Linked DNA regions of Homo sapiens: regions 1 and 2 are each linked to region 3. The links are contacts of gene promoters, found by promoter capture Hi-C in blood cells and fetal thymus (Javierre and others, 2016). All regions are on one chromosome and are shown on one strand. Each heading gives the region's core, a stretch centred on a gene start or on the middle of the fragment in contact. The rest is flanking DNA. Distances are from core to core; before and after follow the strand shown.

Region 1 (4,458 bases), core at 1,818-4,317, 350 kb before region 3:
TCTTGGCCCACTGATTATTTAGAAGTCTGTTATTTAGTTCCCTAATATTTGGGGTCTACCCAGCAATTTTTCAGCAGTCATTGATTTCTAATTTATTTCCATCGTTGTCAGAGAACATACTATACGTGACTTAAATTCTTTTTAGCTTATTGACACTTGCTTTATGGCCCAAAATATGCTATATTTTAATAAATATTCCCATTGTCACTTGAAAAGAATTTACATTCTGTTGTTGTGGGGTGGAATGGTCAATAAATCTTAATCAAATGAGGTTAGTTGGTAGTGTTAATGATAAAATTCTATGACTGGAACAGTAGCTTCCAAAGTGGGTGTATGCATCCCTAAATGTATGAAAAATGATTTATTGAGGTACAGAAAGAAATTATTAAAATTAGGCCAGGTGTGGTGTCTTACATCTGTAATCCTGGCACTTTGGTTGGCCAAAGTGGGAAGATCACTGAGCCCAAGAGTTCAAGACCAGCCTGGACAACATAGTGAGACCCTATCTCTACAAAATATTTTAAAAATTTTAAAATAAGAATTAGCCGGGCATGGTGGCACATGCCTGTAGTCCCAGCTACTCAAGAGCCTGAGCCAGGAAGATCTCTTAAGTCCAGGAGGTCGAGGCAGCAGTGAGCTGCAATCATGCCACTATGCTCCAGCTTTGATGACACAGCAAGACTCTGTCTCAAAAAAAAAGAAATTATTGAAATTTTATATATATATAATTTAATGTATTATGTATATAATTTGCTAAAATTATATATAATTATTAAAATGAAAAGTATATTTATAGATAGTATCATATACTTTTTATTTTTTGTATATTGTTACAAATTACAGTGTATTTGCTACAGGATGTCATGAACATGATTAATATTTTTAAAATTCTAAGTGATAGACTCTATACAGTACTTTGTACTGAGATGAGGAGATACTATGCAATTTTTTTTATCCCACAGGCAGGTTGACCAGCATAGTCTTTCTCCTCTGGAGGAGCTCTTGAAATAATTTCCAGGTCTCAGGGGACCTCTGTATAAAAATTATTTTATCTAAGCCCATAGTACATTAGCATGATCAGTAAGTTGTAGATATAACAATCCAATAATAATTGCCAATGCTCTTTTGAGTAGAGAATGATATCTTTTCCTGAAGATCTGTTTATTTTGGCTTACTTATTTGCCTATCTTTTTATGTGGTTCCTCCTCCCAAAAAAAGACATTATGTCTACTTCAATTTTTACCTTATCCAAGTAGGTCCCAAACTCTTATCACAAATTTCTACTAAATGAGATTCTACTGTGGTTGCTATGTCTTTTTAACCATCTGTCCCTGAAATAAAATCAGATAGTTAAGATTAGCTTACCTTTCTTGAAATGAATCTCCCTAGTGGCTTTTCATAAAATTTTAAAACTCATATAGTAAAAATAATACATTTTTGTTATACAGGCTTAAGACAAAATGAAATTTTTCTAAAGGTAGAAGGAGTTGATTTAATTTATATAAAGGTTGTAAATTGATTTTAATTAATGTTATTTACAACATGAAAATTTATTGAAAATGTTAAAAGAAAGTTAGTAAAACTGCAAAGAAAACAATATGAATAAAAATGGCCTAAGACTGTTTTAAGACAGTTTAAAAGCGTTTCCTTACTGAGTGACATGATCAGGCTGCCTGATACGGTTTGGATATTTGTTCCCTCCAAATTTCATGTTGAAATATGATAAAGTTGGAGGTGGGGCCTAATGGGAGGAGTTTGGATCATGGGAGCAGATCCCTCATGAATGGTTTGAGGCTGTCCTGGTGGTAATGAATGAGTTCTTGCTCTGTTAGTTTATACGAGAATTAGTTGTTTAAGAAAACACTGCCCTCCACCTTCTCTCCCTTTTCCTCTCTCACTTTGTGACATTCTGGGCCCCCTTCACCTTCAGCCATGATTGGAAGCTTCCTGAAGGCCTAGCCAGGAGCAGATGTTGGCATCATGCTTCTTGTATAGCCTGCAGAACCGTGAGCAAAATAAACCTCTTTATAAATTACCCAGCCTCAGGTATTCCTTTATGGCAACACAAAATGGACTAACACACTCCCATGTAGGCCTAGCAATTACAAAATTATTATATACATGTATTACTTTCTTGATCTCTTTAATTGGTCTATATAAAAGTATTAAAAGTGTATTAAACACTTTTTTTAAACTAAAACTAAAGAATGGACTCTACCCCTTAATTGAAACTTGTGCTTGTGTATTTGCTTGTCAAATACACAATTTTCAACATAAATATGACAATTTCAAATGCTTCTTAAAGAAGAAAAACCAGCCTGAGCAATATAAGGCGATCCTGCCTCCGCAAAAAAAAAAGAAAGAAAAATAGCCAGGTGTGATGGCATGCATGTGTTGTCTGAGCTACTCATGAGACTGAGGTGGGAGGATGGCCTGAGGCCGGGAAGTTGAGGCTGCAGTGAGCTCTGATCATGCCACTGCACCAGCCTGGGCAACAGAATGAGACCTTGTCTCAAAAAACAAAAACAAGAAAAAGTTTATTTACAAGTTTAAGAAGTTAAAAACCAACAAGGCATGGTGGCTCACGCCTGTAATCCCAGCACTTTGGGATGCCGAGATGGGAGGATCACCTAAGGTCAGGAGTTCGAGACCAGCCTGACCAACATGGAGAAATCCAAGTCTCTACTAAAAATACAAAATTAGTCGTGCATGGTGGCGCATGACTGTAATCCCAGCTACTCGGGAGGCTGAGGCAGGAGAATTGCTTGAACCCGGGAGGCAGAGGTTGCCAAAAGCCAAAATTGAGCCATTGCACTCCAGCCTGGGCAACAAGAGCAAAACTCCATCTCAAAAAAAAGAAGTTAAAAACCACCGAGGTGTTCGTTGCTTTCCCGTGAATATCAGAAAACTATTTTTTCATAGAAATCCAGTTTGTCAAGAGATAGATGAGTAAATCTCATCTTCAGTACATGATCAGACTGTAGCTCTATTTAAGAAAGTTGACTATTTTTGTCACATCATCCAGACTTTTAAAATTTCTTCTTTGACAGGCTTTGACACCAGCACCTCTCTATGAAGAAAAGAGTGTGTTGTGAACGAAGTCAGAATTTCCTGTGTTCCCTTTGCCGCTCCTGGAGTTCACTGGTGAGTCCTGTCAGTATAGATGCCCACATATTTCTTCCAGATCAGACCTTTTCATTCCAGATACAACGACAGAACATTAAATGCACCCGGGGCCGGGCACTGTGGCTCACGCCTGTAATTCCAGCACTTTGGGAGGCCGAGGCGGGCGGATCACCTGAGGTCAGCAGTTCAGACCAGCCTGACCAAAATGGAGAAACCTGTCTCTATTAAAAATACAAAATTAGCTGGGCGTCGTGGTGCATGCCTGTAATCCCAGCTACTTGGGAGGCTGAGGCAGGACAATCACTTGAACCCGGTAGGCGGAGGTTGCAGTGGGCCGAGATCGCGCCATTGCGCTCCGGCCTGGGTGACAGAGCGAGACTCCGTCTCAAAAAAAAAAAAAAAAAAAAAAAAAATTTATCCGGGATTTTGCTTGTTTGGGACAGCTCTTTGCACCAGAAAAAAAAAAAGTCTTGAAAACCACCTTGTTTAAAAATCTTACAAATGTTATGATATTAATTAGCCAGGTGTGGTGGCCTGTGCCTGTAGTCCCAGCTACTTGAGAGGCTGAGGCAGGAGAATCGCTTGGACCTGGGAGGCTGAGGTTGCAGTGAACGAGATCGCACCACTGCACTCCAGCCTGGGCAACAGAGCGAGATTCCATCTCAAACAACAACCACTAATGTTATAATATGACATTTATTGGTAAAATCTGTTGATTCATCAACCTACATAGAGAACCATTTGTTTCCGTTTATGGCATGTATCATCAATACGTTGACTAATGGTATTGAGAGAGAAAACTTTTCATTTTCGCATGCTACATCTTGTCCTAGTATTTTATGTTTGTTTGTTTTTAGAGACAGCATCTCGTTATGTTGCCCAAACTGGACTCAATCCTGGGCTCGAGCTGGCCCTAGCATTTTATTTACTCTAATTTAGGTTCTCATTACTGTGTGCATTTTCCTTTTCTGGACATTAAATAACTGCTACTAAATAGCTTGCTTCCTGAGGCTATTCACTGACTACGACTTTTTTTTGTTTGTTTGTTTTTTAACAAAAGCTTTACTGTCTTTCAATGTTCCAGTAACCACCGAAAATAATCTGCCCTTTTACTTGTCAAATGTCTGTGCTTTGGAGTTAAGAGTCTTTGCAGTTTTGCCAGAGCCATTGCTGGATGTGTAAGTTGTTTACCACAGACAATGCACAAAGGAATGGAACAATTTGGATTACCAGAGTTCCTTGTTGTCTGGTGTAGTAAAATGCTTCAAAGGATTAAAATTCTTGACTGGGCATGGTGGCTCTCATCTGTAATCCCAGCACTTTGGGAGGCTA
Region 2 (4,263 bases), core at 1,192-3,691, 420 kb before region 3:
CATAGGAACTGGCTAAATAAAATTAAGGTATAATCCCTAAAAGAGAACACTAAGCAGCCACCAAAAAAAAAAAATAGTTCTATATGCTCTGATATAGGCAAATACTTCAAAATTTTTCAAGTAAAAAGCAGAACACTGTGTATAGTATGCAACCACTTGTGCATAAAAATGTACGTATACATAATACAGTTAATGGTGGCTGCCTGTTTGGAGAGTAACTGTGATTAGAAGGCAAAGGTGGGGAGATTTACTTTTCACTGTATTTTTATCTTGTTGTGCCTTTTGATTTTGTACTCTTATTTATTACCTATTGGGATACTTAATGCTGACTCAAAACTCGACCAAGGCAAGCCAAGGACAATTTTGAGAAAAGGAGTCAGTGAATGAAGTCTGAACTGCCCAACGGCTCTGCAACACAACCTCCATGGTGGACATAATGGCATCAGGACATTTTAGCCTGAGAACTTTGAACATTTTCTAGAACAATCTCCTCTTGTTCCAACTCCAGGCTTTGCAAGCTCATGTGCCTTCCACATGGACCTGCCTACCACAAGCTTGTTTCACAGCCCCTAATAATCCAAACTATGTACGCAGCTTAGCAATTCAGGTTTTTATCGTTTTTAAAGGCCTGTTCTTAGTGAAAACAAAACAAAATAAGGACACCAAAAACAAGTTTCCAAGTCTGCAAAGCTGAAAGTCAGATACTAGACTGTGGCAAATCCAGCAAGGTAGTATTACTCTTTGAGACACGTTTAGGAAGGCAACCAAGTAGCTTCCCCTAAAGATAGTGCTTTCTTTCAATATGTATGTTAATAATGGCATAGCTACAAGGACAGTTCCTATTTTTTCTAATATTTCCCCCACCTCGTTGTATTAAGTTACTATTCTCTCGTTAACACTATTTTTGGCTTTCTATCTGCCACCATGGAAGAGGATGACAAGTTTGCTCTAAATTCTCCTGCAGATTACTGTTATTCATTGAGGGCCTACTATGAGGTAAGCACTACTCTAGGCGCCAAGAGAAATTCAAAAAGCAAATAAAACAATCTGGGTGAGCATAAAAGAAATCTGGATGAGGGGGAAAATCTGTACAAACTCAGAGGTACAAGGGCACGGAACACAGGAGCAGGCAAGGTCCTGATTAGATCTATGTAATCAGGTGTTGTTCTGCCACTTCTCTCCACAATATCACCATTCCCCTAGGCCCTCAATGGCCTTTAGCCACCTCCACTTTTTTTTTTTTTTTTTTTTTTTTTTTTTTTTTGAGACTGAGTTTCACTCTTGTTGCCCAGGCTGGAGTGCAGTGGCGCGATCTTGGCTCACCGCAACCTCCGCCTCCCGGGTTCAAGCGATTCTCCTGCCTCAGCCTTCCTGAGTAGCTGGGATTACAGGCATGCGCCACCATACCTGGCTAATTTTGTATTTTTAATAGAGATGGGGTTTCTCCACGTTGGTCAGGCTCGTCTTGAACTCCTGACCTCAGATGATTCGCCCGCCTTGGCCTCCCAAAGTGCTGGGATTACAGGCATGAGCCACCGTGCCCGGCCTAGCCACCTCAAATTTTTGGCTGGCCTCTGCCTTCTCACCGCATAGGCAGTCTGGAGGAATTGCTGCATCCTCTCCTTCCTCTTTTCCCTTGTGAGCTCCATGATATCCTTCCCAGCAGGAACAAATGGGATGCTGCATAACTGGCAGATATCTCCCGCCTTGTACCTTAACTAGAATTCCCCAAATTGGAGTCCCATATCATTCAACTTTTGCTGTAAGTTGAGTAAAGGGAATTTTCTGTACCTAGCTCATGAAAGATGCTTAGTCAGTATCTGCTCTGCACCCACAATAGGCAAGAATTGGAAAAATCTGAATTGTTGTAATGACGATTTCTATTAAATCTTATGTTTTGTATAACTCCAATTTTATGGGTTTTAAATGTGTTATCTGGAGGGAAAACAAGATTGGTCAAATACACAGAGAAAACACTGGGTTATACCAAGTTAAATGAGTTTCTTTACTGTAGGATTACTGATGGTACGTTTTTACTTCTATTTATTTTCTTATTTTTTGAGACAGGATTCGGCTCTGGAGTGGTGGTGTGGTCTTGGTTCACTGCAGACTCCGCCTCCTGGGCTCAAGTGATCCTCCCATTTCAGCCTCCTGAGTAGTTCAGACTACAGGCGTACACCACCATACCCAGCTAATTTTTCTATTTTTTTGTAGAGATAGGGTTTTGCTATGTTGCCCAGGCTGGTCTCGAACTCCTGGGCTCAAGCGATCTGCCCACCTCAGCTTCCCAAAGTGCTGGGCTTACAGGTGTGAGCCACTGCACCTGGCTTGATGATACACTTAATAAGTTAAAATGAACCTCAAATGAGAATACTGGGGGACTATTATGTAAAGCATTTCTCATATAATCTTTTGACTTTTTTTCACAGAGGATCTTCTAGGCCCTAATTGCTTCTCTGTAAGATGACTTACCTCATAGGTTAATATGAGGGTTGAATAGGTTAAGACACGTAAAATGCTTAGAACGATGCTAGGCATACAATAACCACTCAAGCAGAGTTAACTATGATTACCACTACATTCCCTCATGCTGATATTAAACACTACTCCCAGAAACATGAAATGAGAAAATTTTTACTTATGGAACAAGTCCTCTCTCTGCCTGAGAGGAATTGTTTTAAGGCAACAAATAATAGACAAAATTTACAGAAATAATCAATATACATAACATGCTTATCAATAAGAAACATATCTTATATACGCACAAAGTTTAAAAGGCTCTTAGGAGAAAAGTCTGGAGTACTCTGAAGGCTAAGGTAGCAAATACTATGTGCCAGTGACTACAGATATAGTCATAGTACGTACATGACTAGCACATATGAACAAAGTTTAATGAAAAAACCTAAGAAACGCATAGATAAGTGAATATTACCTTGAATAACAACCCAAATATTATTTGCTAATCACTATAAAACAACTGGGAAACCCATTACATGTTCATATATGTATGTAGGCTTTCTCGGGCACATTGGCCCATGCCTATAATCCCAGTACTTCGGGCAGCTGACGCTCCAGGAGGATCACTTGAGGCCAGAAGTTTGAGACCAGCCTGAGCGACATAGAGAAATCCTGTCTCTATAAAATATTTAAAAATTAGCCAGGTGTGGTGGTGTGCACCTGTAGTCTTAGCTACTCAGGAGGCCGGGGCAGGAGGATTACTTAAGCCCAGGAGTTTGAGAGTGTGCAGTGAGCTATGATCATCCCACTGCACTCTAGCCTGGGCCACAGAGCAAGACTCTGTCTCTTTGGGAAAAAAAAAAAAAAAAGTAGTTGTTGCCATATTTTGTTTAAGAGGTGTTAGAGGTATTTGGTTGAATTTATCTCCCAGATGTGTCACAATCTGAAATTTGCTTAAACAAATTCTACAAAGGTAATATGCATCTTACACAGAGATACAGTTCTTAAGTGAGATCTATTATAATTTATACAAGAATTTTATATAAATTTATACAGGAATTTCTGTCTAGTCATCTGGGCTGGTTTTAGAACTACACAAAATTTTCTCAGAACTGAGAAATGGCCAAGTACAGAGGCTCAAGTCTGTAATTCCAGCACTTTGGGAAGCCGAGGTGGGAGAATCACTTGAGCTCAGGAGTTCGAAACCAGCCTGGGTAACATAGTGAGATCCTGTCTCTACAAAAAAAAATTTTTTTTAATTAGCTGGGCATAACGGCACAGTCCTGTAGTCCCAACTACTCAGGAGGCTAAGGCGGGAGGTTGGGGGGTTGGGGCTGGAGTGAGCCATGATTATGCCACTGCACTCTAGCCTGGGTGACAGTGAGACCCTGTCTCAAAAAGGAGAAAGAACTGAGAAATGATTAGAAAGAAAAAACTAAGCTATGAAGAATTAAATGGGTTAGTGGAACTAAATTTTAAGGGAAAAAGTGTACATTTTATAAAAGTCAACTTCCCAGCTAACCCTGTAACACTGATGGTTAATTTTTCTGGTTTTAAAATACCAGGATTCCAAAGCTATAAGCTCACAACAAATCACTGCTTCTATAATCCAGTTTCTTCCCTTTATTTTATGAGCTATTTATTACAAATAACCTGGTAATCCTCACAGTAAAAAATTTTAGGACTGGGGCCAGCAAACTATGGCACAGGCCACATACAGCTTGCTGCCTGTTTTGTATAGCAGATGGCCAAGAATGGGTTTTTAAATTTTTAAAGGGTTGTAAAATAAAATGAAGAATATGCGAC
Region 3 (4,206 bases), core at 407-2,906:
GACTGCTGGAGAAGGGGAACTGACCAGCCTCCAGCCTGAGCCTCAAAACTGGGTCAAGGCAGCATGAAAAAACTGCTACATTACAGCTATTTTATGGGTTCTTTGGAGACCTGAGATATGAGAGCATGTCTCATCTGCAGTCCCTTTGTTGTCCGTGAAGTCTTTCTTCTGACTATATCAGGCACACGCACGCACAGATTCTGCTACATCTGAGAGTACTAAGCTGTCTCCTGCGCTTCTCACATCTGACACTGAATTATACATGACACCATCATCAGCAAAGGACAGGGCGCTGGGAGCACCACGCAGAACCTAAGCTATTGGAGGGTGGGAAAAGCAGCAGCAGAGCCTAGGAGTAGAGGACAAAGCGTTTCCAGTGTAACAGAATAATGTACTATCTGCGGCCGGGACTAGGGTGAGCAGAGTGAGGCGCTCAGTGAGGGTGCAACATTTAAGAGGTGCCATAAAATTCAGCAACTAAAATACATAATAGGTGGCTCACTCCTGTAATCCCAGCACTTTGGGAGGCCAAGGCGGGCGGATCACGAGGTCAGGAGTTTGAGACCAGCCTGGACAACATGGTGAAACCCCGTCTCTACTAAAAATACAAAAATTAGCTGGGCGTGGTGGCGCACTCCTGTAATCTCAGCTACTCATGAGGCTGAGGCAGAAGAATCGCTTGAACCCGGGAGGCGGAGCTTGCAGTGAGCCGAGATCGCGCCACTGCACCCCAGAGCGAGACTCTGTCTCATAAAAAAACAACAACAACAAAAAAAACCACCATAATATTTAATACGGTATTTTAAAAAATACATAAAAACGTTTATATAGGGTGCACAAGTTCCCTTTTGCCTAAGAGTTCAACGTGGCTCAGCGGGGCACTGGTGCTAAGCAGTCGCAGCTTCTAGTCTCCTCCTAGGGCCCGGAGCAGCCCCCAAGGAAAGGCCTTCCCTAGGAAGAAGTAGCCCTTCAGCCCAGCCTAGAAGAAGGAGCTGAATCAAACCAAGGCAGGACGATGAGGCGTGGCGTGTACTGACAGGGAAGAAGAAACAGCAAATATTTGAGTCCAAGATGCCTGGAGGGAAAAGAGCTAGAGGACTATTTGGGGGAATGGTCTTGGCAACACGGTTCTAGGCAGGTACCACGATCATATAGGGACTCTGTAGAATTTTAAGTAGGGAGGCAAGCGCCCAGGTTTGTTTCTTATGCAGAAAGTGCTGAGCAACGGACAGACTGAAGAGGTTAGGTCTGGATCCAGGTAAACCCTTTATGAGGCTAACGCACTAGCTGAATGAGGGATGACAGCATCCCACCTAGACAGGTGCAGACAGATTCCCGAGGTTCAGGTTCGGACTTCAGTTTCTCCGCTGGAACGCTGAGGGTGGGGCAGCACCCGGGTCCCTGCCCTGCAAACGGGGCCGCTGCAGGGTTCCTTTGGCGGGGCCGGTGCCCCGGGGAGCGCGCAGGACGCGCCCGCCTTCAGCCGGGGGCCAGGGCGAGCGGGACGGGGCGGGCCCGCGGGTGCCCTGACCAGCTCACCGCCCAATCGCTGCGGGCCCGCCGAGCCCCGGGGGGCTGGGGCCGCCGCCGCCGCCGCCAGAACGTGCCGCGGCTGCGCCAACGCGCGAACGCCGGGCAGGGCGGCGGGCGCGCTCAGTCTGGCGGCGGCTGCCGTGAGCTGACTGACGTTCCGGGAACGCCGCAGCAGCCCGCGCCGCCCGCAGCCTAGCCGAGCCGCGCCGCCCGGGCCTCGCCCGCCCGCCTGCCCGCCATGGTGTCATGGATCATCTCCAGGCTGGTGGTGTAAGTGGCCTTCTCCCCCGCGCCCCTCCGTCCCCTCCCTCCCCGCCCCCGGCCCCGGGCTGCGCGCGCCCCTACAGCGCCCGGTCCCAGTGGCTCGGGCTATTAATACCCGGCGCAGCTAAATTTAGCAGGTACAGTAGCCGCCGAGGACGCCTGCGGGCGGACGGGCGGCGCAGGACGCGGCTGCTGCCCAGGAGGCAGCCGGCGCCGGCGGCCGCTTGCGGGGGGCTGGGCCGGGACGGCGAGGGCTGGGGCGCTCGGGGGTTCCGTGGGGGCTGCGTCTCGCCGCGCGCTGGCCGCTTTGTTCCTCAGCTCGGTCGATTTGCAGAGGCCCCGAATGGGCGCACCGCGGACACGCGTCTCTCTCCTTTGGCAGAAATGTGAGGTCGCCCGGCGCCGCGCCCCGCCGCCCCAGCTTTTGTCAGGTGGAAAGGACAGCGCAGACGAACCAGGGGCGCTGCCTGGAGGGTCAGCGCGGAACGGGTGGAGAGGCAGAGGCGGGGCTCCCAGTGGGGTTGGAAAAATCCTCCTTTTTAGGTGTCTGCATCGACAGCGGCAAAGGCAGCTGGGACATGGGAAGACGCATGTGAATCTTGGAGTAAACGCCTGGAGCCCCCGGCTCCGACTCCTTTTGCAGGGGATTGAGAGACAGGGGCAGGTACCTCCAGGAATGCACGGGAAATTTTCAAGTGACAGCCACCCGCATGGTGGCGATGACACCTCCCAGGCCTTGCAGGAGAGCGCAGAGTCATCTAGGGTGAGGTCTGTGTGAAGTCATTGGGGGTGGGCGTGGGGGCCGATTTTCTCCTTCAAGCCCCAGGACCTGTAGGCGTTTGAAGAGCTTCCCCGGTGGATTTATTCTCCTTTGGAGATAGACGTGGCTGTTCCAAGTCCCTGTTCTTCCCTAACCATCCTGGCCTGAGTCAGAACAGATTTGCCACCTGCTGTAGCTAGCAGGGGCTGAAATGGGTGTGGGGAGTCTAAGGCGGGGAGGAGGGTGGCAGGCACCTCGGGCTTTTTCTTTGTCTGAGAACACGGGGCTCTGGACCCCAGTGATTGTGCACCATCACTCCCCACGTTTTGAAACACCACCCATCTCCCTTCCCTTCTTTACTGATTTTCCCTTCCGAAGTGGATCTCAGCATTGTCTCCCGCCACCATTCAGGGCTTTCCTCCCAAAGCCAGTGTCTGTGCCTCTCAGCCCCCAAGTCATTCCGTGAAGGCCTCTCCACAGCTGTTCCTGACTGCGGGGTGTTTGCGCTGCACCTTGAGGTGGCATGTTAAATATTTAGAAGATTTCTGCTGGCAGAGCCGACATGAATAATACAGGAAAGTGGCTGACACGCCTTGCCCAGCCTCATGCCTGACCAACACTGTCTTGCCTTCAGGGTGGTGTTTCCTCTCTGGGATCGATATTGCCAGTGGCTTCTGGGAAGCCCTCAGGGTGGGGCTGGAGAGTTGAGCTGGCCTGGCTGGTGGGCTCTCTGTAGGTCCTGCTGGGCTGGGAGTGAGGGCATCTGATCCTGGGTCATGTGACTATCATTAGTTTTATTAGCACTGGGTCATGTGACTATCATTAGTTTTATTAGCACCTCCCTCACCCCTGCCCTTTTTTTTTTTTTTTTTTTGAGACCGAGTCTCGCTCTGTCGCCCAGGCTGGAGAGTGCAGTGGCACAGTCTCGGCTCACTGAAGCCTCCGCCTCCTGGGTTCAAGCGATTCTCCTGCCTCAGCCTCCCGAGTAGCTGGGATTACAAGCGCCTGCCACCACGCCCAGCTAATTTTTGTATTTTTAGTAGAGACGGGGTTTCACCATGTTGGCCAGCCTGGTCTTGAACTCCTGACCTAGTGATCCGCCCGCTTCGGCCTCCCAAAGTTCTGGGATTACAGGCGTGAGCTACCACGCCCGGCTCCTCCCCCTTTTTTACAATGAGCAACTGATGGGGGTGGAGAGGAGAGGCATATATTTGGGAGGTGTCTCAGGGATGTGCTGTTGCTTTCTAAAACAACCACACTCCCTAGAACCGAGACTTCAGAGAATTTAAATGAACAGCATTATGTGGCCCAAGGAGAGTTGATGGGATTTGGGATTGTTACTTCCACTATCAAGTCCAAAAGGTCAGGGATACCACTTATCCCCCAGTCCCTAATTCCCTGTAGAAACCTAGCATAAGCATATTGATTATGAGTTATGAACATCATTTTTAATAAGCAATACCTGTTTCATGAAGACAATATTTGTTAATTACAGGAAAATTAGAAAAGATAAACTGAAAATCATCCACATTTCCACCACACAGAGATAACTAATAATAATGATGGAGGGCATATTCTTCAAGAAATTTTCCTGTATTGCATATATGTACATATATTTGTAATTCAAGGATATTATTGATTCAGCCCAA

The links. Contacts are between HindIII fragments. The CHiCAGO score rates a contact against its expected background, and 5 or more counts as called.
Region 1: a contact is called between a fragment that was not itself captured here and the fragment with the promoter of REEP1 in region 3, in 1 of 17 cell types (total CD8 T cells). The highest score is 6.2, in total CD8 T cells.
Region 2: a fragment that was not itself captured here is called in contact with the fragment with the promoter of REEP1 in region 3 in 2 of 17 cell types (endothelial precursors and neutrophils); the score reaches 5.7 in endothelial precursors.

Annotation. Positions count from the first base shown.
Region 1 is chr2:86,686,918-86,691,375 of GRCh38, reverse strand. RNF103-CHMP3 (RNF103-CHMP3 readthrough) reads left to right here. Exons shown (of 8, transcript NM_001198954.1): 2 at 3,051-3,144. Among named protein-coding and RNA genes, the nearest start is that of RMND5A, 31 kb to the left of the region's middle. The HindIII fragment of the contact is 2,243 bases long and covers 1,946-4,188 here.
Region 2 is chr2:86,754,176-86,758,438 of GRCh38, reverse strand. The region is part of intron 4 of RMND5A (required for meiotic nuclear division 5 homolog A); the gene reads right to left. Among named protein-coding and RNA genes, the nearest start is that of CD8A, 35 kb to the left of the region's middle. The HindIII fragment of the contact is 3,769 bases long and covers 557-4,263 here.
Region 3 is chr2:86,335,076-86,339,281 of GRCh38, reverse strand. It overlaps REEP1 (receptor accessory protein 1), which reads left to right and starts at 1,656. Exons shown (of 9, transcript NM_001371279.1): 1 at 1,656-1,803. The coding sequence starts at 1,772. The HindIII fragment of the contact is 12,312 bases long and covers 1-4,206 here.